Regions from separate parts of the Homo sapiens genome. Here regions 1, 2, 3, 4, 5 and 6 are each linked to region 7. The links are contacts of gene promoters, found by promoter capture Hi-C in blood cells and fetal thymus (Javierre and others, 2016). All regions are on one chromosome and are shown on one strand. Each heading gives the region's core, a stretch centred on a gene start or on the middle of the fragment in contact. The rest is flanking DNA. Distances are from core to core; before and after follow the strand shown. Region 1 overlaps MAST2 (microtubule associated serine/threonine kinase 2). Region 2 overlaps IPP (intracisternal A particle-promoted polypeptide). Region 3 overlaps MAST2 (microtubule associated serine/threonine kinase 2). Region 4 has its middle 4.6 kb from the start of MAST2. Region 5 has its middle 23 kb from the start of MAST2. Region 6 overlaps MAST2 (microtubule associated serine/threonine kinase 2). Region 7 holds the start of TSPAN1 (tetraspanin 1).

Region 1 (2,700 bases), core at 188-2,687, 330 kb after region 7:
TTTCAGTTTAGCTCCTTTTAATTGTATATTATTTTTTGCTTTTTTATTGTGAAAAGTGACAGGTTTTATTTGTGGAGAGAGAACTAAAGATTAGAGACCCAGTGATTTTAATTATGTTACTTTTTCTTCTAAGAGATAAATTAAATTGACATGTAATTCAGCATTTTCAGCATCATGAAAAACATAAATGTTGTACAATGTTTTTCCTAAAAAACTTGTTAAATACAAGTATCCTTAATATGTTTTTAAAAGAGCACAATGCAGGTGTATTTGAGTCTCTTCAAGAAAATAATAAAAACATTAATGCTGTATTAGGTTAACTGGATATCAACTAAGTCTTGTTAACAGTTTAAAGTATCATAACTTTTTTTAACCTCTGAAAATTAAAAATAAAATTTATTTCTGCAATTTCAAAAAAGAAAAAGGAAAAAAACAAAAAGACTAGCACTGATATTTTTTGTATAAGAGTAAAAACAAAACCTGCTCTTATAACTTTTTACTAGTGGTTTAATAATGCCGTTCTCCTTGACATATATGACACCTTACCAAAAACTTGCATAAACGTTCTCCCATGTATTCTAACCATCAACAAATTCAGTAAGATCTCTTTCTGTAACCTCAACTGCTATGGTATGAATGTGTTCCCCAAAATCCATGTGCTGGAAATTTAATTTCCAATGCAACAGTGGTGGGAGATTTGGCCTTTTGAGAGGTGTTTAAGTCATGAAAGCTCTGTTCTCATGAATGGATTAATGTCACTATAAAAAGGGCTTACAGGAATGGATTTCTTCTCTATTGCCCTTCCACCTTCTGCCACGTGAGGAAACACCAAGAAAGCCCTCATCAGATGCTGGTACCTTGATCTTGGGCTTCTGAGCCCCAAGAACTCTAAGAAATAAACCTTGATTCCTTATAAATTACCCAGTTTCGAGTATTCTGTCATAGCAGCACAAAACGGACGAACAAACCAATCAACCAACAAATTTATCTAAAAAAATTTTTTATTTTAAATGCCTTTTAAAAATTTAGATGCTTGGCAGGTGCAGTGGCTCACAACTGTAATCCCGATAGTTTGAAGTCTGAGGCAGGATTGCTTGAGCCCAGGGGTTCGAGACCAAACTGGGAAACACTGTAAAATCCCACCTCTACAAAAAGTTTAAAAATAAAAATTAAGCTGGCCGCGGTGGCTCACACCTATAATCTCAGCACTTTGGGAAGCCGAGGCAGGTGGATCACTTGAGGCCAGGAGTTTGGGACCAGCCTGGCCAACATGGTGAAACACCATCTCTACTAAAAATACAAAAAATTAGCTGGGCATGGTGGCAGGCGCCTGTAATCCCAGCTACTCAGGAAACTGAAGCAGGAGAATCACTTGAACCTGGGAGTCGGAGGTTGCAGTGAGTCACTGCACTCCAGCCTGGGCAGCAAGAGTGAAACTCTGTCTCAAAAAATAAATAAATAAAAGTTTAAAAATAAATAAAAATAAAAATTAGCCAGGCATCGTGGCCCATGCCTGTAGTCCCAACTACTCAGGAGGCTGAGGCAGGAGAATCACTTGACCCTAGCAGGTTGACACTGCGGTGAGCCAAGGTTGCACCACTGCACTCCAGCCTGGGTGACAGAGCAAGATCCTGTCTCAAAAACAAAAACAAAAAAAAGTAAGGCTGTCTATAATTTTTGTAAGACAAATTCAAGATAAGAAAAAAATTTGACGTCACTATTTTTAAGGTATCTTAAATTCTTTACAAATTAACACAAAAGAGATGATAAAAATGCTTAACTATTCAAGATGAAATTCAGCTCCGAATTTGTTCAGGCAAAGTATTTAATGTGTTCTTTTACTTCTCTCTTAAGGATGCTCTTGAGAGTAAGCTAAGACTGCCAATATACTGCTCAAGTCTCATGAAATTTCAAAACTTTTATTTTAAAACCTCTTAACATTACTCATATACCCTTCAAAAGACACTAGATGGCATTAGAAACAAGTTCCTCTTACAAAAAGAAAAACTAAGAGTGAAAAGGACAGCAATTCTCAAGTGAATGCACTTTATCTAAACTCCTACAGTTCTTATCTAAGTTGAATACTTCACTGTCTAACATTATCTATCCTTTCACATGTAATTTTTTCATGTTCCCCTACATTCCTTTTATTTCTCTTTACTCTCTCCCATGGTGATTTAATCCACAGCTTCCAAGTCCACATCTATAGCCCTAAACTGCTGTACTTTACTCTGGACATCTAACTCTTGAAAGGATACCTAAAAAGTGATATCCACATGCAAAAAAATAAACTCTTGCCTCACACTGAATATAAAAACTGACTCAAAATGGGTCGATGAAGTAAATATAAGAAGTAAAACCATAAAATTCATAGAAGAAAACACAGAAGTAAATCATGACCTTGGAGCTGGCAATGGATTCTTAGATATGAAACCAAAAGCATAAGCAATAACAGAAAAACACAGATAAGTTAGACTTCATCAAGGGCATTTTTAAACTTCAAAGGACATTACCAACAAACTAAAAAGACAACACACAGAACAGGAAAAAAATTTGGAAATCATATAACTAAGGGTCTAATACCCAGAATATATAACAAACTTAAAACAACAAAAAAATTCAATTAAAAAAAATGGGCAAAGGACTTGTATAGACATTTTTCCAAAGAAGATATATAAATGGTCAAAAAACACATGAAAA
Region 2 (2,700 bases), core at 32-2,531, 460 kb after region 7:
GACGGAGTTTTTCTTTTGTTGCCCAAGCTGGAGTGCAGTGGCACCATCTCACCTCACCACAACCTCCGCCTCCTGGGTTCAAGCAATTCTCCTGCCTCAACCTCTTGAGTAGCTGGGATTTCAGGCATGCGCCACCATACCTGGCTAGTTTTATATTTTTAGTGGAGACGGGGTTTCTCTATGTTGGTCAGGCTGGTTTCGAACTCCCTACCTCAGGTGATCCGCCCGCCTCAGCCTCCCAAAGTGCTGGGATTACAGGCATGAGCCACTGCACCCAGCTGAATTTTTTTTTTTCTATGGTTAGGGTCTCGCTATGTAACCCAGACTGATCTCAAACTCCTGGTCTTAAGCGATTCTCCTGCCTTGGCATCCCAAAGCACTGGCATTACAGATCTTTCGGAGCCACTGCGCTCCCCAAATCCCAACAATCTCAGCTCTTTTTTTCTAGATTCTTAAAGTGGAAGCTTAGATGATCGATTTTAGACCTTCCTTTTTCTATAATAGAAACTGTAAATTCTCTTCAAGCACTGCTTTAATTTCATCCCACATATTTTGATATGTTGCCTTTTAATTAGTTGGCATTTATATTAAAATATTTTTTAGGTCAGGTGTGGTGGCACATGCCTGTAAACCCAGCACTTTGGGAGCCCAAGGCGGATGGTGTGTATATATATATATATTTTTTTTTTTTTTCTTTTTTTTTTTGAGATAGAGTCTCTGTCACCCAGGCTGGAGTACAGTGGTGTGATCTGGGCTCACTACAAGCTCCGCCTCCTGGGTTCACGCCATTCTCCTGCCTCAGCCTTCCAGTAGCTGGGACTGCAGATGCCCGCCACTACGCCTGGCTAATTTTTGTTGTATTTTTAGTAGAGACAGGGTTTCACCATGTTAGCCAGGATGGTCTCGATCTCCTGACCTCGTGATCTTCCTGCCTCGGCCTCCCAAAGTGCTGGGATTACAGGCATGAGCCCACCGTGCCCGGCCTTTTTTTTCTTTTTTAAATTTTTCTGGTAATTTCTTGTTTGACTAATGGGTTGTAAGAACAACATTATTTAATTTAAAAATATGTGGGGATTTTCCAGATAAATCTTTTATTATTGACTTCTAATTTATTTCTATTATAATCAGAAAACATATTTTGTATTGCTTCTGTCTTATTAATACGTCATGTACATCTGAAAAGAATTTGTATTCTGCTATTGTTGAATGTGGTGTTCTAATGTCCATTAAGTCAAGTTGGTTGCTTTTTTTTTTTTTTTTAGACGTCGTCTTGCTCAGTCACCAGGCTGCTCAGCTCACTGCAAACTTGGCCTCCCAGGTTCAAGTGATTCTCCTGCCTCAGCCTCCCGAGTAGCTGGGATTACAGGCACGCGCCACCATGCCTGGTTGATTTTTGTATTTTTTTAGTAGAGCCAGGGTTTCACCATGCTGGCCAGACTGGTCTCGAACTCATGACCTCAAGCAATCCACCCGACTCGGCCTTCCAAAGTGCTGGAATTACAGGTGTAAGCCACCACTCCTGGCCTCAAGTTGGTTTTTTAGTGTCATTCAGATCTTCCCTTGTCTGTCCTACTTGCACAATTGTTCTGTCAGTTTTTAAAAAAGGAGTGTTGGAATGTCCATCTATAATTATGGATTTGTCTGTTTCTCCTTTCATTTCTGTCAGGTTTAGCTTCACATATTTTGAAGATCCATTATTAGATGCGTACCCATTAAGTTTATTATGTCTTCTTAATGAATGGATTCTTTGATTTTTATCTCTGGTAATATTCTTTATACTGAAGTCTACTTTTTTTTTTTTTTTTGTGACAGAGTCTTACTCTGACGCCTAAGCTAGAGTACAGTGGCATGATCAGAGCTCACTGCAACCTCTGTCTCCTGGGTTCAAGCGATTCTTGTGCCTCAACCACCCACGTAGCTGGGAATACAGGCATGTGCCACCACACCCAGCTACTTTTTGTATTTTTAGTAGAGATGGGGTTTTGCCGTGTTGGCCAGACTGGTCTCAAACTCCTGACCTCAAGTGATCTGCCCACCTTGGCCTCCCAAAGTGCTAGGATTACAGGTGTGAGCCATTGCACCCAGCCTCTAAGCTTTCTTTTCATTAGTGTTTTCATGGTATATTTTATCTTCTTCTTTCCTTCTACTTCTGTGTCTTTACAAACTGCACTTCTAGACAGCACATAGTTGTGGTCTGGTTTTTTTTGTTTTTTGTTTTGAGACGGAGTTTTCACTCTGTTGCCAGGCTGAAGTGCAATGGCGTGATCTTGGCTCACTACAACCTCCGCCTCCCAGGTTCAAGCAATTCCCTGCCTCAGCCTCCCGAGTAGCTGGGACTACAAGCACCCGCCACCATGCCTGGCTAATTTTTTTTTTCTTTTCTATTTTAGTAGAGATGGGGTTTCACCATGTTGGCTGGGATGGTCTCCATCTCCTGACCTCGGGATCCACCCACCTCGGCCTCCCAAAGTGCTAGGATTATAGGCGTGAGCCACTGCACCCAGCCAGTTGTGGTCTTTTTTTTTTTGTTTGTTTGTTTTGAGACGGAGTCTCGCTCTGTCACCCAGGCTAGAGTGCAGTGGTACAATCTCAGCTCACTGCAACCTCCGCCTCCCGGGTTCAAGCAATTCTCCTGTCTTAGCCTCCCGAGTAGCTGGGACAACAGGTGCATGCCACCATGCCCAGCTAATTTTTTTGTAT
Region 3 (2,700 bases), core at 78-2,577, 310 kb after region 7:
GATATTCATTAAAACTCAGTTGAAGGTTGCCTATCAGTCTATTTTCATTCACTGTTATATCTTACATACCTCTTCATCTAACAAACTACCTATGATTTAAGAAGGAAAAGATGGTAGGTAGGTAGGTAGGTAGACAGACAGACGGATGGATGGACAGACAACACAGACAGACAATAGATAAGTGGATGGAATGTGTATATGCCAAGTGATAATTTAGAAAAGTTCTTAAAACTATGCATAGAATCAAGCATATACTACCATACATGTGACTTAATGGTGGGCAGATCAGGCATGGTGGTCAGGAACAGAATATGTTCACCGTAAACAATCTGTCAGCAGTAATGTCTAATGTTCTAAATTAGGCTTGTATCCCATACAGGTCTGATTTAGTTGCTCTACTCACTAAATACAGTGTAAATAAGCCCAAGCAGCATTTTTCTATCAAAATAGCAAGATTTTAGATAAGTTCTCTAATTATAACTATACATCAAAGAATAAAGAGGAACTTAGCTGCACTCCACTCTGCCTCCTACCTCAAATGAATTAAATACATTATAACAATCTGTTCAGTACATTTACAAGAGACATTAAAAGGAAGGAGATCAGTGAAAAAGGTTTTCTTTTACTCACCTGTAACCCTCTCCTTCTCAGAATACTGGAATCATCCATAATAGATATCAGACAAAAAAAAGCCACTCCCCAGACAGTCAACTACTAGTGCCTACTTACTGCTGGATAAAGAGGCAAACAATCCTTTCAGCACACCACTAACCCACTGTTCCACTAAACCAGTTATCCCTCTGTCCAGCGTAAGTATACAATCACTGCCTCATATCAGAATCACGTCTTTCTTCACAGAAGTATAGATACATCTCATCTGAAGCACTGCCAAATAGCGGAAAGACTTCATATTTGTTTTCATTTTCCATGCATACCCCTTTGGTTGAAATTATTTGAAGTACTAAGAAAAGAACAAAAGGTTCCGGGGGAAAAATTCCAATCTTTGATATCCTGACTTTGCTGCTTATTAAAAAGGTTTAGCAAACAAAACAAGAGTCTCCACCTACAGCTACTAAGCTTATAAAATCCATGTCACGTTTTCCTTTCCAGAAACAAAACCACTCCACATACGTTTTTAAAAAGATGACAATTCTTCAGAAATACAAAGAAAAACATACGATTCTGATGCCTGTATTTTAGACTCAAAATGATATAAAACCAGTTATTGTTTTGACTAAGTCGGCAAAATTCCTTTCATCCTTTGTACAGACAAAGCAAATGTCAGATTCTTTCGATACTGTCAGGGGCTCTTTTGTTTCTTTATCGCTAGACTCACTGGTCTTCACTTCTTGGACAGTAACGAAAGCCTCTTTCTTCAGGAGCTAGATCATTGCTAAGGTCGGTTTCCCTGCTCTTTTATGTGCAGGAGGGGGCTAGTCCACGTGTTGTGAGTTCTGAGCATGGACAAATTCATTCAGCTGTTTATCACTTACAGTGCTGTCACAGGAAACGCTCCCCATTCCCCCAGACTTCTAAAAGGGCACAGCATGAAAAAGTCTCATTTTATCCAAGCTTTAATGATCTCAAGAATTGTTTCTTTGGTTACTGGCTGCCATTTTTAAAGTAGAACTTCAGCCAAGTTTAAAGATGCTTCTGTTTCTTAATTCATGGCTCAAAATACATAATCTTTTAGATTTTAAGAGTGAAAGATTGTTCTCATGATATGATTCTGTTCCTTACACACTCCATAAGCAACGTTTAAACTTTCCAACTTTATGGTAATTGTCAGAATCTTAGTAAACACAAAGGAAAGTTGCTGATCTTTCTAACAAGTCACACACACAAAATTGTTAGTGAAGGCAGCATTATATTTTTAGGAAGTGAGTTTAACACATTAAATTCAATCATTTTTTCCAAACTATAAGACATGCTACAATAATTACTCTCCTACAAAATTCAGGAGACACGAATCCAAATTCCCTAATTTGACAGATAAAGGTATGTATAAAGCACACAATCAGCCAGTTATACTACCTAAGGTGTAAATATAGCAATAGCTAAAGGCCAGATTCAGTCTGCACCCAAAAAGGAAGAAAAGCAGTCCCTCCTATAATTATGACAGCTGCAACCAACAGTCTAGGGCTTGAAGGAAAGTCTATTTACAAGATCATTTTCTGGTCTTTTTACAACTGATTATAGTCATAAGAAATTGCCACACTGCTGAAAATAGCACAAAAAACAGGATCCATGTCCCTTTCATTCAGCAGAAATCTTCTAATCCTTAGCATAACCAGTGTGGTCTTTCATTGTGAGAGCTAATAAATCCACATTTCCACGGATTCCTTCTCCCATCTGCTGCTTTGAATAACTAACGGCTGGATTATGTCTATGGGGAAAACAAACACAAGACCTGAACAGACAGCTGATTTGCATAGGGTATGCTGTACACTGTATGAGTGTCTGCAAAGTCATAGGCCTTTAAAGTCATAGAACTCCTCTATCAAAATAGGTTTAACTAGCTAAAACATATGTATCAGCAGAGAGGAAGTAGGAGTGGCTTCTAATTTATTCAACCCGGTAATCAGTAAAAATATAAAAAAGATGCATTCTGAGAAGCTATTCAGACAAAAGATTCAAAATTCAAACTCTTTATTCATTTACTAATTCAAGAACCATTTATTTTGCCAACCACTGAGATAG
Region 4 (2,755 bases), core at 98-2,597, 380 kb after region 7:
TGTGGTAATTATATATTTGTATTACATGTTAATACAAAACTAATACAGCCAGATACTTTCTCAGCCTCCCATCAGCCAGAAATGGCAATGTGACACAATGTGGCCCACATCCACTTTTTTTTTCTTTTTTTTTTTTTGTGATGGAGTCTTACTCTGTCACCCAGGCTGGAAGTGCAATGGCTCAATCTCCACTTACCACAACCTCCGCCTCCCAGGTTCAAGTGATTCTCCTGCTTCAGCCTCCAAGTAGCTAAGATTACTGGCGCATGCCACTGCACCCGCCTAATTTTTGTATTTTTAGTAGAGACGGGTTTCTCCATGTTGGCCAGGCTGGTCTTGAACTCCTGACTTCAGGTGATCTGCCCACCTCGGCCTCCTAACGTGCTGGGATTACAGGCGTGAGCCACCACGCCCGGCCCCACATCCACTTTTATACTTGTCTTCACCAGCTCAATAAGTGACAAGTCAATTTTTTTTTTCAGTTGCTCAGGCCAAAACCTCGGAGTGATCCCTGAGTTCTCTCTTTCTCACATACTTCATATCCACTCCACTGGCAAATCCTGTGCAAATTAGTAGGATATTATAATTAGCTGAGGGAGAGGTGTTAGTGACTAGTACTGAGACAATGATAACGGGGACGGACGAACACAGGTGGACTTTAGAGAGATCCAGAAAGTAGAAACCACAGGACCTGTTAACTGCATCAAAGGTGCAGAGAGAAAGAAAAAGCCCTAAGAATGATTTCCAAGTTTCTGGCTTGGACAACTGAGGTAGGGAACAGAAGAGGGAAAAAAAGTGTGAAACAGATTATGGTCAATTCCATTTTAGATGTGTTTGCTCTGAAGTGCCAGTGAGATATCCAAGTGAAGATGTCTAGTAAGCTACTGGTTACACCAGTGTAGAGCTCAGAACTGAGGGCCACCCATAGTTAGATGTTTAACCGATATGAACAATACCATACTCTTAGAATATAAATGTGATCACATTACTTTTCCTTATTCTAGTTAGGCCCCTTATGTCATATTATTAGGAAGCCTAGTATCTCCTCCTTAATTATCTAAGAACTCCAAAATTGTTTTATATTCTAAAAGTTAAGTATGGGCTGGGCACCGTGGCTCACACCTGTAATCCAGAACTTTAGGAGGCCAAGGTGGGATGATCACTTGAGCCCAAGATTTTTTTTAAAATTATTATTATTATTATACTTTAAGTTTTAGGGTACATGTGCACAATGTGCAGGTTAGTTACATATGTATACATGTGCCATGCTGGTGTGCTGCACCCATTAACTCGTCATTTAGCATTAGGTATATCTCCTAATGCTATCCCTTCCCCCTCCCCCCTGAGCTCAAGATTTTTGAGACCAGCCTAGGTGACATGGCAAAACCCCATCTCTACAAAAAATACAAAAACTAGCTGGGCATGGTGGCACATGCCTGTAGTCCCAGCTACTCAGGAGGCTGAAGTGGGAGGATCACTTGAGCGTGGGAGATGGAGGTTGTAGTCAGCCAAGATCACACAACTGCACTCCAGCTTGGGTGACAGAATGCGACCCTGTCTCAAAAAAAAAAAGGTAAGTATAGCAGTTATCTATTGTCATATAACAAACTGTCTCAAAACTTGTGGCTTAAAACAACAACCATTTATTTAGCTGACATTTTTGTGAGCCAACTGGGCAGTTCTTATGGTCTGGTCCAGTTTATCTAATCACTGCTAGGCTTGCTTATGCATCTGCAGTCGGCTGAGGGCTGGCTGGCTGGTGGCTAAGTCATCTAAAATGGCTTCTGTCACACATATGGCAATTGGCAGGCCATTGGCCATGGCAGTGGGAATGACTAACCCATATAGCTCTCACCATCCTTCAGGCTTACTTGGACTTCTTCACATGACAGCAGTGGTAGGGGGTCCTGTGAGGAGGAAGAGACAGCGAGCCGCAATGTGAAAGCACTTTTCAAATCTCTGTTGATGCCACATTAGCAACTGTGTCATTGCCAAAGCAAGTCAGTGTGGCCAGGGACTAAAGTTACATGGCAAGGGGGAATAGATTCAGGGAGGGGAAGAACTTGTGGCTGTCTTTGAAATCTACTTCAGGAAGATCAGTCCAACTTCCATAGCCAAATTCAGCTATAATTAGATCAGTCCATTGGCATCTTTGCTCCCTGGGACCATATTATGGACTGAATGTTTGTGTCTCCCCCAGATTTGTACGTCAAAGTCCTAACACCTAGTGTGGCTGTATTTGGAGATGAGGCCTCTAAGGAAGTAATTAAACTTAAATGAGGTTTTAAGGGTAGGGCCCTAATCCTATGAGATTAATGTCCTTATAAGCGGAGACACCAGAGCACTCACCCTCTCTCGAGGCACATGTACTGAGGAGGGCCATGTGAGAACATAGTGAGAAGACAGCTGTCTATGGGCCAGGAAGAGTGCCCCCACCAGAATCCAAATTGGCTAGAACCTTGATTTTGGATGTTCAGCCTCTAGAACTGTGAAAAAAATAAATTTCTGTTGTTTAAGCCACCTAATCTGTGTTCTTTTGTTATGGTAGCCCAAGCAGACTAACACAAACCACATAACATTACTTTCAAGAAAGGTCCTTCTGATTCAACAGAGATTTTTTTGAAGGAGGACAATTTCCCTCAGTACTAAGCTCAGTCAAGGATGCCCAGGCCAGAGTTCCCATAATTGAAGCTTAGTCCTTCACTTTTTCATGTCCCATGCAAAGCACAGTCATCTCCCAGGGAAACAAGCAGCC
Region 5 (2,863 bases), core at 179-2,678, 390 kb after region 7:
AGCCTCCTGAGTAGCTGGGACTACAGGCGCCCACCACCATGCCCAGGTAATTTTTTGTATTTTTAGTAGAGACGGGGTTTCACCATGCTAGCCAGGATGGTCTCGATCTCCTGACCTCGTGATCCGCCCACTTCGGCTTCCCAAAGTGCTGGAATTACAGGTGTGAGCCACCTCGCTTGGCCCCAAAAGCTTCTTAAGCTGATAAACAACTTCAGCAAAGTTTCAGGATACAAAATCAATCACTAGCAGAAAGCACTAGCATTCCTATCCACCAACAACATCAGGTGTCTGGGCTTCCACAGCTTCTTCTTCTTGAAGTAAGTATCAATAAGATGTTTGGGGATTTTTACATTGCCGATATCAATTTTGGTTGAGGTGGCAATGACAAATTTCTGGTATGTTCTTCGTAGAGGAATTCGATTGAGGACCAGAGGTCCAGTCACAAGTAACAAACCACTAGCCAGCTGCTTCAGGAAAACCACCTTCTTGCCCCTATGGCATCCAGCGAGGATGATGAGAATGGTCCCGGGAGTGATGCTGGCTCGCAGTTTTCTCACGTGCTGACTGAAGGATTTTTTGCCATGGCTCAACAGCTTTCGAGGCACATCTTCAGTAGGATAATATCTAGGCATTTTGCGAAGTTTAACCACCCGGGCACCGCCATTCTTGTCACAACCAACTGGTTTTGTAACAGTTGCAAGAACCTTCTCCTTCTTTTTCTTTTCAACCTTAGATTTAGCGGCTGAGTACTTCCTCTTGTACATGGCCTTTCTGGAATACATGGCAGATCGGCAATACCTGCCAATTCCTCTGACAAGGACAGGGTTGCGGCTGCAATGGGGCTTTCCCTTCTTGGGCTTTTTAGCCTTGAGGTTACCCTTTTTCACCTTGCCACCAACATCAGCCTTCTTGGCTTTGGGTTTCTTCTCTTTAGCATCTGGCTTCTCAACTTTTTCACCCACCATCTTGCAAGATGGGAAACAAGTGTCTGCATTTCTTCCAGTCTGCCCACACCTGTTCTCCAGCCACTGCTGTCTCCTGCCTGGTTCCCCTCTCTGCCCTGCCACCAGTTCTTCTGGTCCTCTTCTCCTCCCTGGGAGCCATAGCTGCCTTTGGGCTATACAGGTCTCCCAGCTCTGTTTTCTGGAAAGACAATATTTGTAGAGAAAGTTCAGAGGTCCTCATTAGCAGGAGTCAACACCGCAGCAGTCTATATTGCAGAACAGAAGCTGGGCACTTACATGTGGTATCAAAGCATCAGCTGCCTGGAGAACTTTTCTTTGCTAGTGCTGCAGATAGAGCATGCAGTTATGCAGACCAAAGTTTCATTCTCCTGCCCTGCATCTCTCCATGATTTCACCCGCCCCACCCACAGACTCCAATACACAATTCAATCATTGCATTTTGTGTATGGTGTTGTCATTATCTATCTCCCCCTTAAAGTACTAACTCCGGCCGGGTGTGGTGGCTCACGCCTGTAATCCCAACACTTTGGGAGGCTGAGACGGGTGGATCATCTGACATCAGGAGTTCGAGATGAGCCTGACCAACATGGCGAAACCCCATCTCTACTAAAAATACAAAAAAATTAGCTGGGCACGGTGGCAGGCGCCTGTAATCCCAGCTACTTGGGAGGCTGAGGCAGGAGAATCGCTTGAACCCGGGAGGCGGAGGTTGCAGTGTGCTGAGATTGCACCACTGCACTCCAGCCTGGGAGACAGAGCGAGACTTCATCTCAAAAAAAAAAAAAGGACCAACTCCTTGAGGACAGGGACTATGTCTACCTTGTTTATCTCTGCGTCTTCAGTACTATTAAATTCCTCTCCTAGATTTCCTCTGCTAACACTTCCTTGGATCCTCTTAGATTAGCTCCCTCACTGGGGAAAATAAAAAATAAAGGCTATAGGTAGAATAGAGGTTCAAGAAGAACCATTTGTCATCTACAAAGCTAAATAACAAGAGCAGTAAGTTTGTTTTGTTTTGTTTTTGAGACCAAGTCTCACTCTGTTGCTCAGGCTGGAGTGCAGTGGCACAATCTCAGCTCTGCTTCCTCTGCTTCCCAGGTTCAAGTGATTCTAGTGCTTCAGCCTCCCAAGTAGCTGGGACTACAGGCATGTGCCACCACGTCTGGCTAATTTTCGTATTTTTAGTAGAGACAGGGTTTTGCCATGTTGGCCAGGCTGGTTGTGAACTCCTGGCCTCAGGTGATCCATCCGCCTCAGCCTCCCACAGTACTGGGATTACAGGTGTAAGCCACTGTGCCTGGCCTAGAACAGTAAGATTTTTTAACTGAGCCCTGAATTTACAAGGCTTATGGTGAAAGGAATCTAACATTTTCTAAGTGCCTACTAACTACTAGGCATCTGTCTTATTCAATACTCTCTCATTTACTTGGTTTCTCTCCACCGTAGGAAAGATGGTAGCCAGCAGCCCCAGGCTTACATTATCTCAGACAAGATCCTGCAATGAAAAAGGAGAGGGATTCTCTCTCGCAGTATATAGATTAAGCCAATAAAAGATTCTGATTAGCTCTCTTGGGTTACATGTGCCCTGTGGACCCATTACTGCACCAGGGAGATGAAATACTATGACAGATGTGGCTGAGTTACGTGTCCTATGACAAAGAGGGGCAAGTTATTATCCAAACAAATGGGGTAGGAAAGCTTGATGGGCAGTAAAAGAGCATTAGTTTACACAGCTATGAAGTATTAAAGCAAGTCGCGCGTGGTGGCTCACTCCTGTAATCCCAGCACTTTGGGAAGCTGAGGCAGGTGGATCACCTGAGGTCAGGAGTTCGAGACCAGCCTTGCCAACATAGTGAAACCCCATCTCTACTAAAAATACAAAAAATTAGCCAGGTATG
Region 6 (2,700 bases), core at 67-2,566, 350 kb after region 7:
CATCAAGCTAAAGTGGATATCCTCTATGAAGACAATGTGGAGAGGGAAAGATCCTATCTCAAAAAAACTTACAACCAGCTGCATGGGAGAACCAGCATTTGGATGCCTGCTACACTGTATGGATGAATAATCCGTCTTAGCCAGAGAAAGAACAATCAAGAAAGAATTTGATCAGTACCAATTAAGAGAAACACATACACTTTTCAATTTCCCTATTCCTTCCCACAAGACACCAAAGTAAAGAAACCAGATAACAGAGGAGAGGAGAAAAGAAAGAGAGGATCACACCCCTTCTTACTGCAAGTCTCTTCGAGTCAAAACCTGGCAAAGGAAAGGAAATATAAATTAAATATGAAATTTGAACTTTTAAGCTAGGATTTTTAACTTTTACTGAAGTACATTACTCATTTTAGAAAAGTACACATACCTAAGCATAGAACTCAATGAATTTTCACAAATTGAACAGACCCACTAAGCAGCATCAAGATTAAAACACTGAAAATAGCCAGGCACGGTGGCTCATGCCTGTAATCCCAGAACTTTGGGAGGCTGAGGTGGGTGGATCATTTGAGGTCAGGAGTTCAAGACCAGCCTGGCCAACATGGCAAAACCCCATCTCTACTAAAAATACAAAAATTAGCTGGGCGTGATGGCACGTGCCTGTAATCCCAGCTACTTGGGAGGCTGAGGCACAGGAATCGCGTGAACCTGGGAGGTGGAGGTTGCAGTGAGCAGAAATCACACCACTGCACTCCAGGCTGGGTGACAGAGCAACACTCTGTCACCAAAAAAAAAAAAAAAAAAAAGGTGAAGGTGAAACAATATATGAATATGGGAATTCTAGAAGAGAAGGGGGCAGTAAGAACATGTGAAGAGGCCGGGCACCATGGCTCACGCCTGTAATCCCAGCACTTTGAGAGGCCAAGGCGGGCAGATCATGAGGTTAGGAGTTTGAGACCAGCCTGGCCAACATGGTGAAACCCCGTCTCTAATAAAAATACAAAAATCAGCTGGCGTGGTGGTGCATGCCTGTAGTTCCAGCTACTCGGGAGGCTGAGGCACAGTTATGACTTGAACCCAAGAGGCAGAGGTTGCAGCGAGCCAAGATCCTGCCCTGCACTTCAGCCTGGGTAACAGAACGAGACTCTGTCTCAAAAAAAAAAAAAAAAAAAAAAAGAAGAAATAACATACCAAAACTTCCCAAATGTGATGACAGATACAAATCTACACATCCAAGAAGCTCCGTGACTTCTAAGCAGGTTAAATTCAAAAAGGTTCATATGGAGACACATGATAACCAAACTGTCAAAGCCAATGGCAAAGAAATAATATTCAAAGCAGCAAGAGAAAAGCAACTTGTCAAATACAGGAGATCCTGAATCAGACGAACAGCTCATATCTCATCAGAACTGTGGAGTCCAGAAGTGAGTAGGATGACATACGGAATTCTATCTTGAGCATAACTGTCCTTCAAAAATGAGGAAAAAATAAAGGCTGGGTGCAGTGGCTCACACCTGTAATCCCAACACTCTGGGAGGCCAAGGTAGGGAGATTGCTTGAGCCCAGGAGTTTGAGATCAGCCTGGGCAACATGGCGAAACTCTGTCTCTGCAAAACACATAAAAGTTAGCTGGGCATGGTGACATGTACCTGTGGTCCCAGCTACTCAGGAGGATGAGGCAAGAAAATTGCTTGAGCCCAGGAGGTCAACACTGCAGTGAGCCAAGATTGCACCACTACACTCCAGCCCGGGAAACAGAGCAAGACTCTGACTCAAAAAAAAAAAAAAAAAAAAAAAAGAGAAAGAAAGAGAAATTGAAATCGAGGCATTTTCAGATTAAGAAAAAAAAAAAAAAAAGCAGACAGAGTCCATCACCACTACATATGTTCTACATCAAATCCTAAAAGGCATCTTCAAGTTGAAATGAAAGGACACTAAACAGAAACTTAAGGCCATCTGAAAAAATGAAGATCCAAAAAATAAAAAATAAAGATCCCCAGCAAAGGTAACCATATGGACAAATATCACAGCCAGTATTATTCTATTTTTGTTTTTCAGCTCCACCTTTTTTCCCTATATGACTTAAAAGACAAAAGCATTAAAAAATTATAAATCTATGATATTTAGCACACAATGAATAAAGATGTAATCTGCCACAAAAACAACTTATCAAGGAAATGGAGCTATACAGGAATAAAGTTTTTGTATACTACAGAAGTTAAACTGGTACCATTTCAAACTAGACTGTTATAAATTTAGTATGTTACATGTAATCCCCATAGCAACCAAAAAAAAATTCTAAAAAACACACACAAAAGGAAGTGAGAAAAGATCCCCTTGATCCAGTTTTGCTTTGGTTGCCTCTGCATGTGGGGTATTTATTGCTCAAGAAATTTTTGCCCAAACCAATGTCCTAGCAAGTTTCCCCAAAGTTTTCTTTTAGTAGTTTCAGAGTTTGCAGTTTAAGATTTAAATCTTTAATACATTTTTGATTTTTGTATATGGGAAGAGATAGGGATCTAGTTTCACTCTTCTGCATGTAGATATCTGCATATAGATTTCCAGTTTTCCGAGAACCATTTATTGTACAGACTGTCCTTTTACCAAAGTATGTTCTTGGCACCTCTGTCAAAAACCAGTTCACTGTAAATGTATGGATTTATTAATGGGTTCTCTATTCCGTTCTATTGGTCTCTGTTT
Region 7 (2,700 bases), core at 101-2,600:
CCAGGGCATGCGTTCCCCCTACCGCAGGCCAGGTATGGGCTGGCCCAGGCCCCGATTTCCCAGGATGTTCAAGTGTAGCCGCAGAAGATATCAACAGGGTCTCCGAGGTCGAACTGCCAGCAGTGCAGCCATCAATCCTGCCACCAGGGCCATGGGTATCAACAACACCCACACTGACACCACCATAGTGTGGATCTTCCCACCTCAAGGTTAGCCAGGGGGCCTGTGAGCCAGGGTGGGGTTTTAAAAAACAGAGCCACTAGGCTGGGTGCGGTGGCTCATGCCTGTAATCCCGGCACTTTGGGAGGCCAAGGCGGGCAGATCACAAGGTCAGGAGATCGAGACCATCCTGGCTAACACGGTGAAATCCCATCTCTACTAAAAATACAAAAAAAAATTAGCCGGGCGTGGTGGCACACGCCTTTAGTCCCAGCTACTTGGGAGGCTGAGGCAGGAGAATTGCTTGAACCCGGGAGGCAGAGGTTGCAGTGAGCCAAGATCGCGCCACTGCACTCCAGCCTGGGTGACAGAGCTAGACTCTGTCTCAAGAAAAAAAAAAAAAAACCAGAGCCAGTGAAGATTTCCCTACCTGGTTCTGTTTAGGCACGCCAAAGGATGATCTCTGTGAAATAGCACCCCTACATATATGGGGGACTCCTGATGGCAGGCACCCCAAAGTGCTGACAGCCTTAATGGAGGATGGATTGGCTGGAAGCAGAGGGTTTGGGGAGGGGCTGAATCCAAGAGGCAGGGAACTTCCAGAACTGCTTCCTTCCTCAAACTCTTCCCTCTCCTTCCTCTCCTCAGTTCTCAGACATCTCAGGCAACCTGGGATTTTTCTGATCCTCTAGAAGTGCCCAGAAGCTAGCCCAGAAGCTTGGTTTGCCCTGGACCTGCATCTCCTAGGGGCCGTGTGGGTGGTGAACAACAAATACAGTCATTCTGCTCAAACTGCCTTATTCCACACAGAGGTGTTAACCAGCTGACTATGCAGGGCGTGAGGGGAGGGTTATGGCTGAATACTTACAGGGAAAGGCTTCAGTGACCGCAGCAGGGATCATAGTTTAAGACAGCAGGAGGACAGGACAAGGTCAGCAACATAGACCATCTTTGGTCTCAGCTCTTGATCTGCCCCATGAAGTAGGGGCTCTCTTGCCTTACACTCCTAACTGCACAGGGAGAAGGGTCTCTGTAAACATCTTGGAAGGTATTGGGAGGCACAGATCAGAGAGGGATAGGATGAAAGACTGAACCCTGAGAGTACACAAGTATGAGGTGGATGTGAGGTGGATGTGCCTCTGTGTGCCTGTGATGGTCAGCGTGTAGGTGTAGCTGCTGGTGTGTGTGTCTGAGGCCGGGAGAATAGGAGTATCAGTAGATGTGGCTGAATGTGCCTTTGTGATTTAATGTGCCTCTGTGACTGACTGTGAGTGTCAAGGAGCGTTTGTGAGGGTATGGGTGTGCCGGAGAGGACATCAGCCCTGGTAAGAAAAGTGAAGGTCAGGAGGGGGATGGGGAACAGCCTAAAGGAGGAGAACATGGAGAAGGGTGAGATTCTGAGAAAGGCATACTACCTTCGGCCCTTCAACCATTCTCTGAGGTCAGTGTTTTCCAGAACTGGCAGCTGAGCTGGGGTGCTTAGGGGTGGGGCAAGACTGAGTTTGAGCCCAGAAAGTAGGGAGGGTGCTAAGCTCTCTGGCCTGGGGATTTTCCATTTGGATTTCTGAGTGTGTGCTCATGTGTCACTGGCTGTAACCGGGTTTCTGTGGGGTTGTGTCTTAGTCGCTGGGAACATTTTGTAGGACTCTGTCTCGAATATGTTGCATCATGCATGGGCTAATACGTGTTGCACCGGTCCGAGATCTGGCTGCATTTCCAGGCTACCTTCCCAAGGGGCTAGGGAAGGGAGTGAACCCTGAGACCTTTGGTGGCCTGGCCCCCTGGGGTTCAGGAAGTGTGGCTAATGTCCTTTGCTGCCTGTGAAGGGAAAGTGAATTGTGCTTATGTCTATCTACCCCAACTCTTGCCAGAGACTGGGACCCTGAGGGGGGTTGAGGCAGAGAATTCACTGACACACCATGCCCAGACGGTGCTGGGCTCCTCAGGTTATGGGATGGGGGTTGCTGAACATCAGTCAAAGCTAGAAGGTGCTTGGGCCATGCTCAAGGGCCCAAGAGGGGCCATACATATAAAGATACATGACACAGTTCACAAACACATGCAGACATGTAAATATAAGTGAACTCATAGACACATACTGCAACAACCACACACATGCATGCAAGCACATACTATAAGCAGATATACGCAGACACAAATGCATAGATCCCCACACGATATATGTAACAACACATACGCATGCCTCTAAATGAACACAGACAGAAACATGCATGCACCCAGACACAAGCACACAAGCACCCAGATGCAGACACATGCCTTCACACTCATGCAAACCCAGGCACACACAGACATACACGCATGCAGACACACTCACCAGACTTCCCTGCCCCTGCGGCCCTGGGACCCAGAAGCCTCCCTCCCCTATATGAGTGTGTAGTATGTGTGTGTGCATGCACTCATGCCCACACTTGTGTCTGTGTGTATCTGTGTCTGTGAGAGTGTGTGTTTGTGCTCGAGTGTGTGTATGATGGGGGTGCTAAGCTGTGGGAACCAGATGACATCATCTCTTCCAGCTATTTT

Evidence for each region. The method cuts DNA at HindIII sites, captures the fragments that hold promoters and counts their contacts. A CHiCAGO score of 5 or more calls a contact.
Region 1: a fragment that was not itself captured here is called in contact with the fragment with the promoter of TSPAN1 in region 7 in 2 of 17 cell types (M1 macrophages and M2 macrophages); the score reaches 5.9 in M1 macrophages.
Region 2: a contact is called between a fragment that was not itself captured here and the fragment with the promoter of TSPAN1 in region 7, in 1 of 17 cell types (erythroblasts). The highest score is 5.4, in erythroblasts.
Region 3: a fragment that was not itself captured here is called in contact with the fragment with the promoter of TSPAN1 in region 7 in 2 of 17 cell types (M0 macrophages and erythroblasts); the score reaches 6.2 in M0 macrophages.
Region 4: a contact is called between a fragment that was not itself captured here and the fragment with the promoter of TSPAN1 in region 7, in 1 of 17 cell types (M1 macrophages). The highest score is 5.9, in M1 macrophages.
Region 5: a fragment that was not itself captured here is called in contact with the fragment with the promoter of TSPAN1 in region 7 in 1 of 17 cell types (M1 macrophages); the score reaches 6.3 in M1 macrophages.
Region 6: a fragment that was not itself captured here is called in contact with the fragment with the promoter of TSPAN1 in region 7 in 2 of 17 cell types (M1 macrophages and M2 macrophages); the score reaches 5.2 in M1 macrophages.

The regions. Positions count from the first base shown.
Region 1 is chr1:45,843,056-45,845,755 of GRCh38, reverse strand. The region is part of intron 3 of MAST2 (microtubule associated serine/threonine kinase 2); the gene reads right to left. It also overlaps the pseudogene TMA16P2. Among named protein-coding and RNA genes, the nearest start is that of MAST2, 41 kb to the right of the region's middle. The HindIII fragment of the contact is 8,479 bases long and covers 1-2,700 here.
Region 2 is chr1:45,710,859-45,713,558 of GRCh38, reverse strand. All of the region lies in intron 8 of IPP (intracisternal A particle-promoted polypeptide), which reads left to right. Among named protein-coding and RNA genes, the nearest start is that of TMEM69, 24 kb to the right of the region's middle. The HindIII fragment of the contact is 1,629 bases long and covers 467-2,095 here.
Region 3 is chr1:45,863,070-45,865,769 of GRCh38, reverse strand. All of the region lies in intron 3 of MAST2 (microtubule associated serine/threonine kinase 2), which reads right to left. Among named protein-coding and RNA genes, the nearest start is that of MAST2, 61 kb to the right of the region's middle. The HindIII fragment of the contact is 495 bases long and covers 1,080-1,574 here.
Region 4 is chr1:45,797,680-45,800,434 of GRCh38, reverse strand. No RefSeq gene overlaps it. Among named protein-coding and RNA genes, the nearest start is that of MAST2, 4.6 kb to the left of the region's middle. The HindIII fragment of the contact is 2,693 bases long and covers 1-2,693 here.
Region 5 is chr1:45,779,379-45,782,241 of GRCh38, reverse strand. It overlaps the pseudogene RPL6P1. Among named protein-coding and RNA genes, the nearest start is that of MAST2, 23 kb to the left of the region's middle. The HindIII fragment of the contact is 2,474 bases long and covers 192-2,665 here.
Region 6 is chr1:45,819,992-45,822,691 of GRCh38, reverse strand. The region is part of intron 1 of MAST2 (microtubule associated serine/threonine kinase 2); the gene reads right to left. Among named protein-coding and RNA genes, the nearest start is that of MAST2, 18 kb to the right of the region's middle. RefSeq lists a silencer at 48-248. The HindIII fragment of the contact is 3,835 bases long and covers 1-2,700 here.
Region 7 is chr1:46,173,737-46,176,436 of GRCh38, reverse strand. It overlaps TSPAN1 (tetraspanin 1), which reads right to left and starts at 1,350. Exons shown (of 9, transcript NM_005727.4): 1 at 1,028-1,350. P3R3URF-PIK3R3 (P3R3URF-PIK3R3 readthrough) reads left to right here. Exons shown (of 10, transcript NM_001303427.2): 1 at 1-209. It overlaps P3R3URF (PIK3R3 upstream open reading frame), which reads left to right. Exons shown (of 2, transcript NM_001328655.2): 1 at 1-209; 2 at 808-951. The coding sequence ends at 851. It also overlaps a transcript of PIK3R3 not described here. The HindIII fragment of the contact is 4,826 bases long and covers 879-2,700 here.